Regions from separate parts of the Homo sapiens genome. Here regions 2, 3, 4 and 5 are each linked to region 1. The links are contacts of gene promoters, found by promoter capture Hi-C in blood cells and fetal thymus (Javierre and others, 2016). All regions are on one chromosome and are shown on one strand. Each heading gives the region's core, a stretch centred on a gene start or on the middle of the fragment in contact. The rest is flanking DNA. Distances are from core to core; before and after follow the strand shown.

Region 1 (2,846 bases), core at 219-2,718:
TCTCCAGGCAGTCAGGGTTTTGAATTCTATTTACAATTCCTCTGCTCTCTATGGCCTAGAATGATTGAACCAAGTCTCTAGATCACTGTAGGAGACATCAACCTTTAACAATACATTCTTGAGGAGAAGAGACTCGTGTAAGAAACTATCTTGTAAGAAGGGATGAGAATTACCCTAATGATGTAACTGACAACACAGTTTCTAGTTTTTCCTTTCTTTCCTTCCTTCTCCATTTTTTCCAGTTTCATATCCTTGTTTGTTCATGCTACATGAATACTTGAAGTTGATAGAGTTGGCTTTAACTTAGGAACCTTTGCTTAGAAAGTCAATATCCTGGCCTTTCCCAGAGTACTTGACTTCCTGCAAACCTTGTTAATAATACTTTGTTTTTTAAAATGTTGGAGAACTTCAGCCATTGCAGCCTCTTGCTAAGAAGCAAAAGCTATAATGACAGAGAAGCCCCAAAGTGCAGTGGAACCAGGGATCTCCGGGGAGAGTGGTGGTTTCCTGGGCCCCCCCAGAGAACCCAAGGCTGTGCTGGAGATGCTGCCGTGACAGGTGGAGGCGTGGAGAGGCACCTGGCAAGTCCTCAAACGCCTCCCCCTTGATTTAGCTCCTCTAGCTAAGGATACGCATTCCTTTGGGTTTCAGGTTTTTCTTCCCTAAAAAGAGAATCCCCAAACTGGACAAGCAGGTTACATTCACACAATAGCGTGAATGAATTCGCTGGTCGCCCTTCAGATTCTCATTTTGGAATCTCGAAGAAAGAGAGGTGGTGGGAGGAGGGCGCTTGAAACTTCTGGCGATGCCAGTTCAGATCGATTCCAGCTATGACGGAGCGGGAAGTGGATAAAGAGGACCCCAAGTCACAGGAGGCACTCTGAGAGCACCAAGCGCCCGGGGAGGCCATCCGCAGGTGGGCGCGGGGCCTGGATTCCACAGAGGGGCGGAGTCCCTCAGTCAGGCGCTGGCTGCAATCACACCCGAGCGCCAGCCCCCTCCAGCATCCCTGAGTCCCAGAGGAGATCGCCGAAGCGCTGGAAAAGCCGTTCCGCCCACGACTTCTGGTGCCGGGTCGGCGGCGACTGGGGGAGCCCAGTTCCGAGACCGTACCGCACCCACTGCGGACCTCCTGGGCCCTACATAGTAGGCGGGTCATGCAGGGCAGCGGGAGGAGGGGCGTGGGAGGGCCAAGGCCGCCGAGTCCCCGCTGTTCAGCCAGCAGGAGCGCCCCGCAGCCCTCCCGGGACACGGTGGACACGCTTGTCCCAGACCTGGGCGCCCTCCTGCCGGGAGCCAGGACTGGCCGCAGCAGGCGCTGTCCGGGCCCGTGGGCGGGGTTTCGGGAGGGGGCGGAGCCAGGCCCACGGCCGGTGTCAGGTTGCTCCGGTAACGGTGACGTTTCGCGGCGTGGGCGGGGCCAGCACGCAGGTTGCATATTTTAGGAAGTGAGGAGGAGGCGCGGGCTGGAGCTGCGGCGGGGTCTGGGGCGCAGAGCAGCGGCGGGAGGAGGCGGACACGTGGCAACAGCGGTAGCAGCCCGGGCGGCGGCAGCAACAGCGGCGGCGGCATCGGCCCGAGCCGCCGGCCGCCCTCCCACCCTCCCGCCCCGCGGCAGCCCTAGCTCCCTCCACTTGGCTCCCCTGGTCCCGCTCGCTCGGCCGGGAGCTGCTCTGTGCTTTTCTCTCTGATTCTCCAGCGACAGGACCCGGCGCCGGGCACTGAGCACCGCCACCATGGGGAAGGGGGTGAGTGTCCGGCGCGCCCGGGGAGGGGGCTCGGGGAGCCCTCGAGGGGAAGAGGAGGAAGTCGGGAGGGCGACCGCGGCCAGCGGGAGGCGGCGGAGGAGGAAGCGGCGCCGCGTGGAGTGGGCTGGCAGAGCCGCGCGGCTTAAAAGACGACGCAGTTTGGAAATGGAGGGAGCGCAGTAACGGGGGGCGGGGGAAGGGAGCGCCGAGGGGCTGGAGCGCGGCATTGCTTAGGGGGGTGGGCGGACCCTGGGCGGGGGCTGCGCGCCCCGGAGGCCGAGCGGGCCGGGGGCTCCGAGAGGCGGTGCTTGGGAAGCCTCGGGGCCGGGAGGAGGGGGCTTGCAGCAGCGGGGGCGGCCCCGGGACTGAGCCGGCATCCCTGAGCCTGGCTCCCCTCCCTGCGACCGCCGTCACCTCCTTCTCCTTCCTTTTCCCTCCGCCCTCCGTGCCCTGAGGAAAGGCGCGCTCCTCCCCTTCCCCTGGGGCGCTCCGCCGGGGCCTCCTCCCGGGCCTCCGTTCCCGCCGCGGCCCCGGTTCCGGCGGGGGCAGCCTCCGGGTTCGGGGCTCCTTCTCCTGGGGACGCTGGGGCTTAGCTTGCTCCGCGCAGAGGCGGCCGCCCTCCCCCAAAGAAAAAACTGGCTGCTTCTAAGTGCGAAGCCGGCTGGGCGGGCTGGTGCCAGAAAGGGTGTGTCTTCACTGCCCTAAGATGGCCTTTAAGGTATACTTTTGAGGGCTTTCTTGGGCCACTTTCCGTAAACACAGGATGCACCGATGGCAACTGGAGTTGTCATCCGATGGTGGGGAGAGGCGTGCAGATTTTTTTTGAAGGGACGAGCCCTGAAGGAGGATAGGCAGACCCACCAGGGCCTCAGGGTACAAGAAACCCGAAAAAGGACTGGAGGCTGCAGGCAATACGGTGGTAGGAATCTCTGCCGGTTTCCAGCGTCGCGGAAGCACCAAAGGGCGGTCCCTGAAGGAAACGAGGGGTCTTGGGGCTGGAGAGCGGCGCGGAGCGTGGTGGGAATATCGTCACAACGCCGCTGTCCTACATTTCTGTAGCGAAGACTTGATTACCCCTAGCTATTACCCGTGCAGGAG
Region 2 (2,846 bases), core at 142-2,641, 730 kb before region 1:
AACAATTCCATGTCACCCTTTGTTTGAAGGATAAATGTGTTGAATGAAGAAGGCATCCTCCCCTTCATCATCCCCTTAACACACTTATATACACACACTGTGCTTGCTACCCTAGGCCTTATCAGCTATTTTGGTGGGATGGGCCCTTGTCACATTGTGTTTTAATTGGAGGTCTCCACATTGGGGCTGTGAGCTCATTGGGAGTTAGAACTATTTTAGATCCATTTCTTTTCTCCTGAGTGCCCCACGATGCTTGGAACACTGAACCTGTGAGTAGAAGTTGAAATTGCAAAATTCTTAGTGGGGTTATATGTGGTTTGGGACAATTTGTGATTGTTGCTTATACTCCTCTATATAAACAAACAATTCTAGTAATTGCTACAGTGCTGTCAATTTTCTGTAGCTAAGAACACAGGTTCTGGAGTTAGACTCTCAACGTTTAAGCCCTGGCTCCTGTGGCAGTCTGGTTTCCCTAACTAACATGATATTAATGTCTTATTTTTCTTAAACACTTGTTATGCGGATTAAGTGAGATATTACATGTAAGTGACTTAAAACAGCATCTAACACATAGTAAACACTTGACAACTAGAAACTGTTAGACTATTACCATCATCTCTGTAAAATCAGCTAGCTGGTTAGGGTCTCGCTGTATAGGGCATGTGATTTGGGCATCATGCTATTCTATTTTCCTTAAGATGGAAAAGATTAGGTGGGCTTGTGATTGGACCATGTTTCTGTTAGCAATATTGGTTTGGTGTTAGCAGTATTGGTTTGATGTTAGCAGTATTGAAGTTTGATGCAAGGATACATGTGTGTGCTGTTGTCTCTAGCAGTGTCCTTCTGAATCCCAGTTACAGGACAACAGTGATCAGACTCTGTACCATCAGATTTACAGAGGAGATAGTACTCATGAGATCTATTTTTCTGAAGTTTAAATATCTGGCAGGGAACAAGGGAGTCACTTGCAAGCAAATATACATCACATAACTCCAGACATGTTAACGATTCACACCTCTTCAGAAATCTGTACCCAGCTGCTGGAGGTGTTTCAGGGGTAATTAATGACTGGAGCCAAGAGAAGTTATTCTGGCAAGGTGAGTTGAAATCATTGGCGAAACAAGTAAAACAAAGTTGACATTTTCTTTCCTTGTAAATAATGACCCAGAATCATTCATTTATAAGCTGTTGTAATAAAAGAATCATTGGGTTTGTCACAAATGCCATAAGCCCAGCAGATCCTCACATCAGTGACCTGCATGATGTTTGGTGGTTTATAGGCCACAAGTTCAAAATGTTTTATAGATTTGCCCTGCATCTCTGCCCGCTCCTTTCCAGCCCATGCCCCTCCAAATAAACCCACTAAAACACACACGGTTTCCTCTGGTCTCTCTGACATTTGCTTCCAACCTGGGGATGGTAAATAGAGGCCTGTAAGAAACAGAATAGAAATCACTTGTTACTCAGCTATAGCTAATAGTAGCAGTTAAAGGTGGTAGCAGAGACCAGAAAAATGTGTATAAGTTCAGTGAAAATGATACAGAAGTTATATGCCATACAACCCCTTCAGTTCTTCCTAACTGAAGGAATTTTACTCTAGTGAATACTAGTAGTAGTTGACAGCTGTGAGTGCCTACCACGTGCTAGGCACTGTTCTAATAATTTTTATGAATTATCTCATTTAATACCTACCACAGATCTATAATATAAGTAAAATAAAATCTGTTGTTACAGTTAGGGAAACTGAGGCAGAGAGCAGTTAAGTAACTTGTTCTGAGGTCACACAGCTAAGTACTAGAGCCAGGATTTGAATGCTCTTCACCCACAATTTGGGCTCATTGCTACTCTCTAGAAGAATAGTTGACTCTAAACAAAATTATTTCAATTGTCACTTTCCCCTTGAGTGCCATTTAATTAAGAATGGGTACCCCTAAGAAGAATGTTAGCTTCAAGACATAATATAAATAATAATTAATAGCATAATCTCTGCAGAATTCTATGTAAAAATCAAATATTCAGAATAATATACACAGCATATATAAGCATGGTTGTACCAGACACCACTTTTCCTTGGAAATAGATCTACTTACTGCATAGGAAGCAAAATCTCTCTTTAAATTCAGTGCGTGTCTCTGTAACCCTTACAAAGTAACTTTCCAAACCAGAGCTCCCTTAATTACTTAATAGCTCTAGGCAGAGCTGTTGATGTTTTTATAATTTCCTTTTTGCGAAGGTTAGCTTATGTTTACCACTGTCATTATCATAACATATTATTTCCTTCATACGATTTGCTAAACACTGTGTTTTCATATTAAGTAGTAGGATTTTTATATGAGTGAACATGACTTTAGGAGAGAATTCTGTTTGAGGCTGATTATCTTCATTTTGCTTTTGATAAAGGGTGGTGAAGGAGGTTCTTTCTGACATTTTTGCCTAGGAAGTCCAGAATTTAGGACACTGCCACTTAGAAGCACTCTGTGCACCTATCTCCCATTGTTGACCTTGCCTGCATGCAATGTGGTTCAATGAGCCTGGCCGTGTCCTAATATTTGCCTCCAGCCCCTACCCAAGCAGTGCCAAGCAATACACTCTTAAGGGGTGGGTGACCGGTGAGGCAAGATGCTCTTGGGCAGTGGCTGAAAGAGGCTGCTGCTGATTTTTACTCAGTGTGTCTGGCATACGAACTCTGCCCCTGAGTGGGACTGCCATGCGAGCCAGTAGTATAGCTTTTTTTTTTTTTTTTTTGATAGTTCTGGTATCACGCCTCTATCTAATATCTGCATCTTTTTTTTTGCCACCTCTAAAACTAAGGATTTAAAATAGATAATTTCTAAAGTTTCTTCCAC
Region 3 (2,846 bases), core at 149-2,648, 720 kb after region 1:
GTTCCTGGCTCTCTCCGTATTTCTCTTTTAAATCCTGTACCATCCTGTGGCTTGTCTTCCCTCTTGGAAGTGGCACTGGAGTTTGGGTCTGAGGAGCCTAGACACTCGGAGGCAGCAGACTCACCGAGATCCAGCACCGTCCACATACTGTCCCAGTTGCTGAGACTCCGCCAGTGTTGCTGTCATCTTTCTTTACTGAAGTCGGTAAGAAAAGCCCTCAGCCTGCTGTCATATAGTGCTCCAGAGGGGCCACCTGAGAAGTCAATTTCACTCTCCTCCAACTGGAATCCAGTCTGCTTGATCAAAGGAAATGCTGTTTCGGTTTTTCTATTTTTGTTTTTTGGTGGGTTGGAGAAAAGGGGGCTTATTTATTTTGCTTTATTTCATATTAATCTTGATAATTCCTATGGCATCAAGAATAGTGTATTTCTATTGTTTATTTTGTTTTAGATTAACTGTTTAAGAAAAGAAAATGATATTTTGTTTAAAAAGAAGCCATTTGTGAATGCTCTGGTACTTCAGAATGTCATAAAGCTAATTTAGTTCTTGGGGTTTTCTGCTTTCAGGCAGTTTTGGGGTTTTGGGTTCCAGTTATAAAAACTCAGATAGTTATACAGACTGAAAAGTTGCCCCTACCTTGGATAGAGGCACATCCAAAATTAAGAGGAGTATTCTATTCATTTAAGGAGCTGTAATAATGTATTCTGATTATCAACATCTCAATTATATTCTAGCTTGGAAAAAATAGAATGATTATGTCATCTGCCTGGCAAGTCTTTAAAAAGTTCCATCATTTGGTTTATCTTTAATGTGGTGAAAAAACTTGCAAGATCACACTTTAATCAAGGTGTCTTGAGGAGTTACTGATGACAAATTACAAGATATTTTGCTCTGTGAAGTGGTAAACAATCAAAACATCATCAACAAGTAACAAGGTTTGCTCCCTTGACTCCCAGCTGCTCCTGTCCTTTTTTGTCTGTTCAGGCCCTGGATCCAATGGAACTGAAGGGTGAAGGTCTTGTCCTTTCCCTGGAAGAACAGCTCAGTGCTTTGACCTTGTCAGAACTCCGTGACTCAGAGCCATCTTCCACTGTTTCCCTTAACGGCACCTTCTTCAAGATGGAGCTTTTTGAAGGCATGCGAGAGAGCACCAAGGTACTTTTTGTCTCCTCTGTAGTAGTCGAGAGACTTCGATTCCTCACACATTTTCCTGTGTGACAGCACTTCATTTGTCCAAGTGGGAACAGCCATTTGCCAGCAGAGCTAGAGCCGTTAAATTCTAGCTGATCAGATTCTCCCTCCAGTCTTAAAGCTTCATTTATTTCACAGATAACACTAAAGCCTTACTACATAGGGGACTTTGAGAGAGTAATTTGGGACAACCCCAGCATTGCACTGAAGTGGGTTTTCTGTCATGGGTCACTGGGGAGCTTGCCAGGTTTGTGCTAGGGACGGGGCCTATGCAAGTGAGCAATTTGTTTAGAGAAAGCTTAAAAGGAAAACAAAGGCTTGACTCTAGAGACTGTGTCATACATGCGAGCGCCAATTGCTCTGACTTTGAAAGGCTTCCACATGTGAGTAGTGTTTCCTACATAGCCTTCTGTCTTCATTAGTCATTCTGCTCTGTTTTCGTCAGAGCTTTTTAAGGCAGAAACATTCTGCTGGAGGAAGGCTTAGATATGCCGTAACCTGAATCCTGCCTGTCTGCTGGCTCGGAATGTGCTTCATCATCCTGCCTGTCTTGAAAGTGAGGCTTGTTTCTCTCTTAGCATCTCAAGCTGCCGTTCTTGGGCTCAACCTCTCTTCAAAGGCTTTTTTTGAAAAAGTGTATTAATAACTAGAAAGGTCACTTCCAGGGGAATGGCATTATTTTTTAAAAGGAATGCTGCCTTTTAATTAAAATTTGAAAACATTTACCTAGGTCTTTACCACTGATAGCTGAGAGAAACATAAGAAGAGCATCCCATGTGGCCAGAACACACATGCTAGTGCCTTCAGAGTGAGCTATTGGGCTAAAATTTAAATTCCTAATCATTTGTGTTCCTTGTTTAATTAAATGCAGGTAATATTTATTCACAAGTTTTCTTAACATATGTCCATTAATAGTTCAAACCACATACGGTTGTTTCAAGTAGGGAAGGAGGCTTCTTACTGGAATTTGACCCCGGCTCGTGGGCCATAAATCCAGCCCTCCTGCTGCAGTTTTCTCAAAACACCATGGCTAGCTTTTTCATGTGGGAGTCACAGCGCCTTCCACAATCTCAAGTTGCCAAGACACCAGGCACATCAGTGTCTCTGTTCTATTGTTAACTAAATAACAGATGTAGCTGCTTTTCTGTCTGCTAATTTGAATGGTACAGTTCTGTGACTCACTTCCTGCCTAGGCACCAGAATGTTTGTTAAGATTGGAAAGCAGCCCCATGTGGTGACCACTGTAATGACATCCTAGAATGTGGGAGCTCAGGGCACCTCAGAATTTATCTGGCCTAAGTCCTTCTTTTCACTGATGAGGAATCTGAGTCCCAAAGTGGTCCAGCCATATGAGGACAGAGGAAGAACTTCTGTATATTTGTCTCCTGATTGACTTACAGCCCAGTTTTCTTCCTTCTCCAGCATTCTGGGGGTGAACTCTGGGGCCCTTAGAGGCTCTTGAAAGGTTTTTCACATGAGCAGCTGGGAAGAATGAGCCCAGCTGCACTCCAAAGTCATGCCCCACGTGTTCTTACTGACAGCTCCCCTGTGGACTCAAGTGCACCCTAAGGGTTCTTGGGGAATACCCAGGGAGCCTGTTCGGAAGCTTTAACAATGGTTCCTCCGTCTGGACAGGTCCTTTTCAACAACATTTG
Region 4 (2,846 bases), core at 128-2,627, 700 kb after region 1:
AGGATGGTCTCGATCTCTTGATCTCGTGATCCGCCCACCTCAGCCTCCCGAAGTGCTGGGATTACAGGTGTGAGCCACCGCACCCGGCCAAGATATGAACTATTTTTTAAAAAATATTTGTATGTTTTAGAGAAGGGAGTCTTGCTGTGTTGCCCAGGTTTGAGTGCAGTGGCTATTCACAGGCACAATCTTAGCACATTGCAGCCTCTGGCCTCAAATGATCCTCCTGTCTCAGGCCCCTGAGTAGAGGGGACTATAGGTGTGTGCCACTGCATCCAGCTGCACTCTTTTAACATACCAGTTGGTTTACATATTTTCAGTGGACTCATAAATGTCATAGTTTTTTTTTAGTAGTTTTAATTTGTTTAAATCAGGATCCAAATAAGGTTCACAAATTGGAATTGATTAATATGTCTTTTAAGTCTCTGAAGTTTTCCCTTCATCTTTTTTTCTCCCTCGTAACTTATTTGTGGAAGGGATCAGGTTGTTTGTCCTATAGCGTTTCCCACTGCCAAGATTTTGAAGGTTATATTCTCCACAGTATAGTTTTACGCCTTCTTCTGTTGTTTCTATTTCCTATAAATTGGTAATTGGATCTAGAGGTTAGTTTTTTGTTTGTTTTGGCTTCGTTGTTTTGGGGTTTTTTTTGGGGCAACATTGCTTTGTAGCTAGTGTTGTGACCCCCCTTCAGGGACACACAGTGTCTGGCTGTCTCTCATTTCTCTGATTTTAGTAGCCATTGCTGATCAGTGTTTCTATTTCAGTCATTCGTTACAGACTAAAAAGAATAAACCTGTGTGCATTCTCTGGCTACCATGCCATATTTATTCTTGGACTTCCTAGCCCTTATAAATGTTCTGTGCAGTAAATAATTTTTAAATGTGTATATAAAAGTAATTGGTTTCAAGTGACCTCCCAAAGCCAGGTTCAAATAGTTGCAAGATGTTTTCTTGGATTAAAAATAAGCTTATCTCTTGTTCTAATGGATTTTCATAGCCTTGATTATTTGTGTTTTATACTTCATTAGATTGTTCTTCCGATGCATTAGAAGTAAGGCAGAGGGGAAACGCTGGTGTGGAAGTATTCCATGGCAGGTAGGAATTATTCATCTGTTTTCAAACCTGCTGTGTTAAGACTTTTAATATGCAGCATCACCTGAAAATACCTTGAAGTTCACGTAAATGAGTTGGTCTTCATCAGACTGTCTCCGAAAGATAGTTTTCTTTAAGCAAGGTAGGCCCTGTTGGGACTTTTATTCAAAGGATCATTTAGTCGTAATCAAGATTAATTATTTGCATCCTATTTCACTTAGTAAATATTTTTTGAGGTCTTAAATGTAGTCAGTATTCTTTTACTCAAGGAAAAAAATAGATTTCCTTGACTAACTCTTGTATCTTTTTATAGAGGAATTTCTACTTGATACTGGTATAAGCTAAGTATAAGCATAAGCTCCTAGTATGTTAGAACTAGGAGGAGCATCTCCTAATAGGAGAAGCCCTACAGATATTCAGTACGTGAGGAACTAGAAGTAGGGAGGTGATAAGACTTGTTTTGGCAGAGGTGTGGCTTGAACTTACGATTCTAGATTACCACAGTAAAATCCTCCTAAAGCCAAAATCAAAGCAAGTGTTTTAAGACAATGTTTAGGTTTGGGGAAAAGTTCATCTTAAGAGAATAGTTTTTTTCCTGAAAAGTATACACTGTGGCCATTGTGATTGTAAAAGCACTTTGGTTTGTCACTACTTTTCCTTGAGGCCTGGAAAAGAGTGATCATGGACAGAGAAGGAACCAAGCTTCGAAAGTATCGTGAAGAAATGAGTCCTTTGTGGGTTTGGCACGTCATCTTTTCTAGACGTGGAAATGGTACCAAGAATGTTCAGGAAATATTGGACTGCTTTTACTGTGTTTCCATTTCTTCTGCAGAATAATCCTAAGTGAATTAATGCAGGAACAGAAAACCAAATATCATATGTTCTCACGAGCAGGAGCTAAACATTGAGCACCCATAAACATGGGAACAATAGATACTGTGAACTACTGGAGAGGGGAGGAGGGCATGGGTTAAGAAACTATCTATTGGGCACTATGCTCACTGCCTGAGTGCAATATACTCATATAACAAAGCTGCATATGTACCCCCTGTATATAAAATAAAAGTTGAGATGAAAAGGAAAGGCATTCTAGATACGAAGTTTGTATTAATATTTTATATGAAGATTAATTATTTTGTCTTTAGGATCCTGATTCCAAAGAACATTCTGTATCCAATAAGTCTCAGCATGCATCTGAGACATTTCATCATTCTTCCAACTGGCTGAGAAATCCATTCAAGGTACTTGACAAGAATCAAGAACCAGCTCTCTGGAAACAGCTCATCAAAGGTGAAGGTGAGGAAAAGAAGGCTGATAAGAAGCAAAGAGAAAAGGGAGATCAGCTTTTCGATCAAAAGAAAGAACAGAAGCCTGAAATGATGGAGAAAGACCTCTCATCTGGCCTGGTACCAAAGAAAAAACAATCTGTAGTTCAAGAGAAGAAGCAAGAAGAGGGAGCAGAGATTCAGTGTGAGGCAGAGACTGGAGGCACACACAAAAGAGACTTTTCTGAAATTAAATCTCAACAGTGCCAAGGTAATGAGCTTACAAGACCATCTGCATCTTCTCAGGAGAAATCAAGTGGTAAGAGTCAAGATGTCCAAAGAGAATCAGAACCTCTGAGAGAAAAGGTTACCCAGCTTTTGCCTCAAAATGTTCACAGTCACAACTCAATAAGCAAGCCCCAGAAAGGGGGACCCCTCAACAAGGAGTACACGAACTGGGAGGCTAAAGAAACAAAGGCAAAGGATGGCC
Region 5 (2,846 bases), core at 143-2,642, 640 kb after region 1:
AAGGTGGTCTAACTTGTATTCCTAGATTCTTATTACAAAAAAAGCATGATATAAATATGTCACATTAATTTGGACTTATGAATAAATTAGTGTATTCTAAATTATTATAGAGGCTGAGCGCAGTGGCTCACACCTGTAATTCCAGCACTTTGGGAGGCTGAGGCAAGCAGATCACTTGAGGTCAGGAGTTCGAGACCAGCCTGGCCAACATGGTGAAACCCCGTCTCTACTAAAAATATAAAACTTATCCAGGCGTGGTGGCCCATGCCTGTAATCCTAGCTACTCAGGAGGCTGAGGCAAGAGAATCACTTGAACCTGGGAGGCAGAGGTTGCAGTGAGCCAAGATTGCACCACAACACTCCAGCCTGGGTGACAGAGCAAGACCGTGTCAAAAAAAAAAAAATTATTACTAGAAATGTGTGTGGTTGGCTGACTAGTTGGTTGGGCATTGGTTGGTTTCCCAGTTTTAGACTGAACATACATATATGAAATATATGCACTTGACTGCATCAGGTGACCACTTACCTTTTCTGTGCTTTTGCCCTTTTTTGTAGTTCCCTCCTATCCCTTAGAATTATTTTCATTTCATCCCAGATTCCTATACTCAGCCTTATCATGTTCTCTGTAATGTCCTTTTTCCTTTCCCTCACTTTTTTTTTCCACTCTGGTCTCCTTACTCTTTGTCCCTGTGGAGTCACAAAATGCAGCAGAGGCTCTGCTTCTTACTCATCTTCGTATGAACTCTGTTCGGTTAACTCCATAAGGCCAGCAATCTCTCCCTGTCTGGCCCTTCTGGTGTCTTCCAACCCTGTCTTCCCTTTTACAGTACCCTGGGCCCCTAGTGGAAGAACTGACCACTCTTGTGGCATGTCTTTGTTCTTTCTGCAACACAAAATGAACTAGCCTTTAATATCAATCATAGTAAGTAAAGATATGCTTTTTGATTTCTGAAAAATGCTTGATTTAAAAAATTTGTCAAATGAAATATTACCATTTAATCATGCTTTTTCCTTTAGACCTAATACTTCAGATTTGTTCTAATAGAAAACATTCCCTAGTGGTCCCAATGGAAAACTTTTGGTAAGAAAAAAGCTAAAATAAATTCTAATCCCAGAACCTGCTGGATTTTCTAGCCATCTATTAGGAGGCTTTTCAGTAAAGCTATAGTGGCTCTTTAAGAAATGACAAAACAAAACCAAAAAAACCTCCACAGAATAGAAAGGAAGTGCTGCTGCCTCGTCAGATGCTAATGTTGGCTAGTCTTGCAACAGACCTGGCTAGGAGCTACAGATAGTTCCAACCAACCAGCTAGAAAAATCATGGCACCAAGGGCAGAGCCCTAGACTTTGCGTCTCCAGCAACTACTTCTCTGGGAACTGCCCGATGGCAGGCACCCTGGAATTTGAGACTTGAGGAAGTATATGCCAAATTTTCTCAGAAAATAATGTAAAGTTACCATACATTTATTTGCTTTAAAATAAGTACACTTCGATAAGCAGATGTTTTATAGAAGTGGTCGTGTTACATTGATGAAGCTAAATTTTTTTAAGAGACTGAAGATTACTATGGAAGTTAAAGTTATAAAAGAACAATTAACTCATCAAGCAATTCCACTGCTGCTCAGCCTGAAGAAGATGTTGAACATTTGAGTCAATTATAGCTAATAACTTGCGATCTCATTTACCAGAATTGTAATACAGGGAAATACATAACGTGGTACACTGGGAACTGGAACACTAATCTCTTTTTATTCCCCTTTCTTTCTCCTACTTACAAGCTAAGCTCAGCATTGGCCAGAGAGAAGTAACAGTTCAGAAAGGACCACTGTTTAGAGCTGAAGGTTACCCAGTCAGCATTGGCTGCAATGTAACTGGCCACCAGGGACCTTCTGAGCAGCATTTCCAGTGGTCTGTTTACCTGCCGACAAACCCGACCCAGGAAGTCCAGATCATTAGCACCAAGGATGCTGCCTTCTCTTACGCAGTATATACGCAGCGGGTGCGAAGCGGAGACGTCTACGTGGAGAGGGTCCAGGGCAACTCAGTCTTGTTGCACATCTCAAAACTCCAGATGAAGGATGCTGGCGAGTATGAGTGTCACACACCAAACACTGATGAGAAATACTATGGAAGTTACAGTGCAAAGACTAATCTAATTGGTAAGTTGCTTGTCCACTTCTGCTAGCCAGCCCCTGAGAAGCCAGAGTCTCCACCATGACAATATCTTGCAATATGACATGGCTTTATATTGTTCCATTTTCTTTGGGAAAAGAGCCCATGTACCCCTGTGGATATTTTGGAGATATGTCACAAGTGGGTATCTCATATTCTCTAAAATTATCTGTTTCTTTTTCTCAATTATCTTTGCCATAAATATTTAGATGGTGTGTGGTTTTCCCAAGGCCTTGTCCGCAGCTCTCCATAGGTTGCTAGTAGCAACAGCATTCAACAAAGCTGTGAGAGTTCTCCCTGTGTTGTCTCTGCTTGCAGGCAGAACAGTAATTTGACAAGAAAGCTGGTACCATAGGTGATAAGTCATTAACTTAGAAATGATAATTCTCAAACTACCATTCTCTAGCATATTTACACATTGGGAAAGGGTGATAGTCCTTGCAATTGTCACTTTGTCCCTTTGTCTGGAATATCTATCACCCCCTTTTCAGCTTAACAAACTCCTACATATACTTCAGGACCCAGTTTAGATATTACCTCTTCTGTGGAACTCATCTTGACTGCTTGGGCAGAATTCCCACTTTTGTTTCCTTTAGATTGTTCATACCACTGCTCTCAGCATGTATCCAGTTACATGGTAATTGGCTATTTGTATGCCTCTTTCCCACCACATC

What was found. The method cuts DNA at HindIII sites, captures the fragments that hold promoters and counts their contacts. A CHiCAGO score of 5 or more calls a contact.
Region 2: a fragment that was not itself captured here is called in contact with the fragment with the promoter of ATP1A1 in region 1 in 1 of 17 cell types (fetal thymus); the score reaches 5.2 in fetal thymus.
Region 3: a contact is called between a fragment that was not itself captured here and the fragment with the promoter of ATP1A1 in region 1, in 1 of 17 cell types (activated CD4 T cells). The highest score is 6.6, in activated CD4 T cells.
Region 4: a fragment that was not itself captured here is called in contact with the fragment with the promoter of ATP1A1 in region 1 in 2 of 17 cell types (activated CD4 T cells and naive B cells); the score reaches 5.8 in activated CD4 T cells.
Region 5: a fragment that was not itself captured here is called in contact with the fragment with the promoter of ATP1A1 in region 1 in 2 of 17 cell types (activated CD4 T cells and non-activated CD4 T cells); the score reaches 6.6 in activated CD4 T cells.

Annotation. Positions count from the first base shown.
Region 1 is chr1:116,371,776-116,374,621 of GRCh38, forward strand. It overlaps ATP1A1 (ATPase Na+/K+ transporting subunit alpha 1), which reads left to right and starts at 1,469. Exons shown (of 23, transcript NM_000701.8): 1 at 1,469-1,748. The coding sequence starts at 1,737. RefSeq lists silencers at 1,096-1,625, 2,056-2,355 and an enhancer at 2,726-2,845. The HindIII fragment of the contact is 4,966 bases long and covers 1-2,846 here.
Region 2 is chr1:115,643,767-115,646,612 of GRCh38, forward strand. The region is part of intron 1 of VANGL1 (VANGL planar cell polarity protein 1); the gene reads left to right. Among named protein-coding and RNA genes, the nearest start is that of VANGL1, 3.2 kb to the left of the region's middle. The HindIII fragment of the contact is 4,549 bases long and covers 1-2,846 here.
Region 3 is chr1:117,091,747-117,094,592 of GRCh38, forward strand. It overlaps TTF2 (transcription termination factor 2), which reads left to right. Exons shown (of 23, transcript NM_003594.4): 17 at 71-204; 18 at 985-1,155. Among named protein-coding and RNA genes, the nearest start is that of MIR942, 1.5 kb to the right of the region's middle. The HindIII fragment of the contact is 177 bases long and covers 1,311-1,487 here.
Region 4 is chr1:117,072,634-117,075,479 of GRCh38, forward strand. TTF2 (transcription termination factor 2) reads left to right here. Exons shown (of 23, transcript NM_003594.4): 4 at 1,028-1,094; 5 at 2,237-2,846. Among named protein-coding and RNA genes, the nearest start is that of TTF2, 14 kb to the left of the region's middle. The HindIII fragment of the contact is 827 bases long and covers 965-1,791 here.
Region 5 is chr1:117,008,072-117,010,917 of GRCh38, forward strand. It overlaps CD101 (CD101 molecule), which reads left to right. Exons shown (of 10, transcript NM_001256106.3): 2 at 1,779-2,159. Among named protein-coding and RNA genes, the nearest start is that of CD101, 7.7 kb to the left of the region's middle. The HindIII fragment of the contact is 3,067 bases long and covers 1-2,846 here.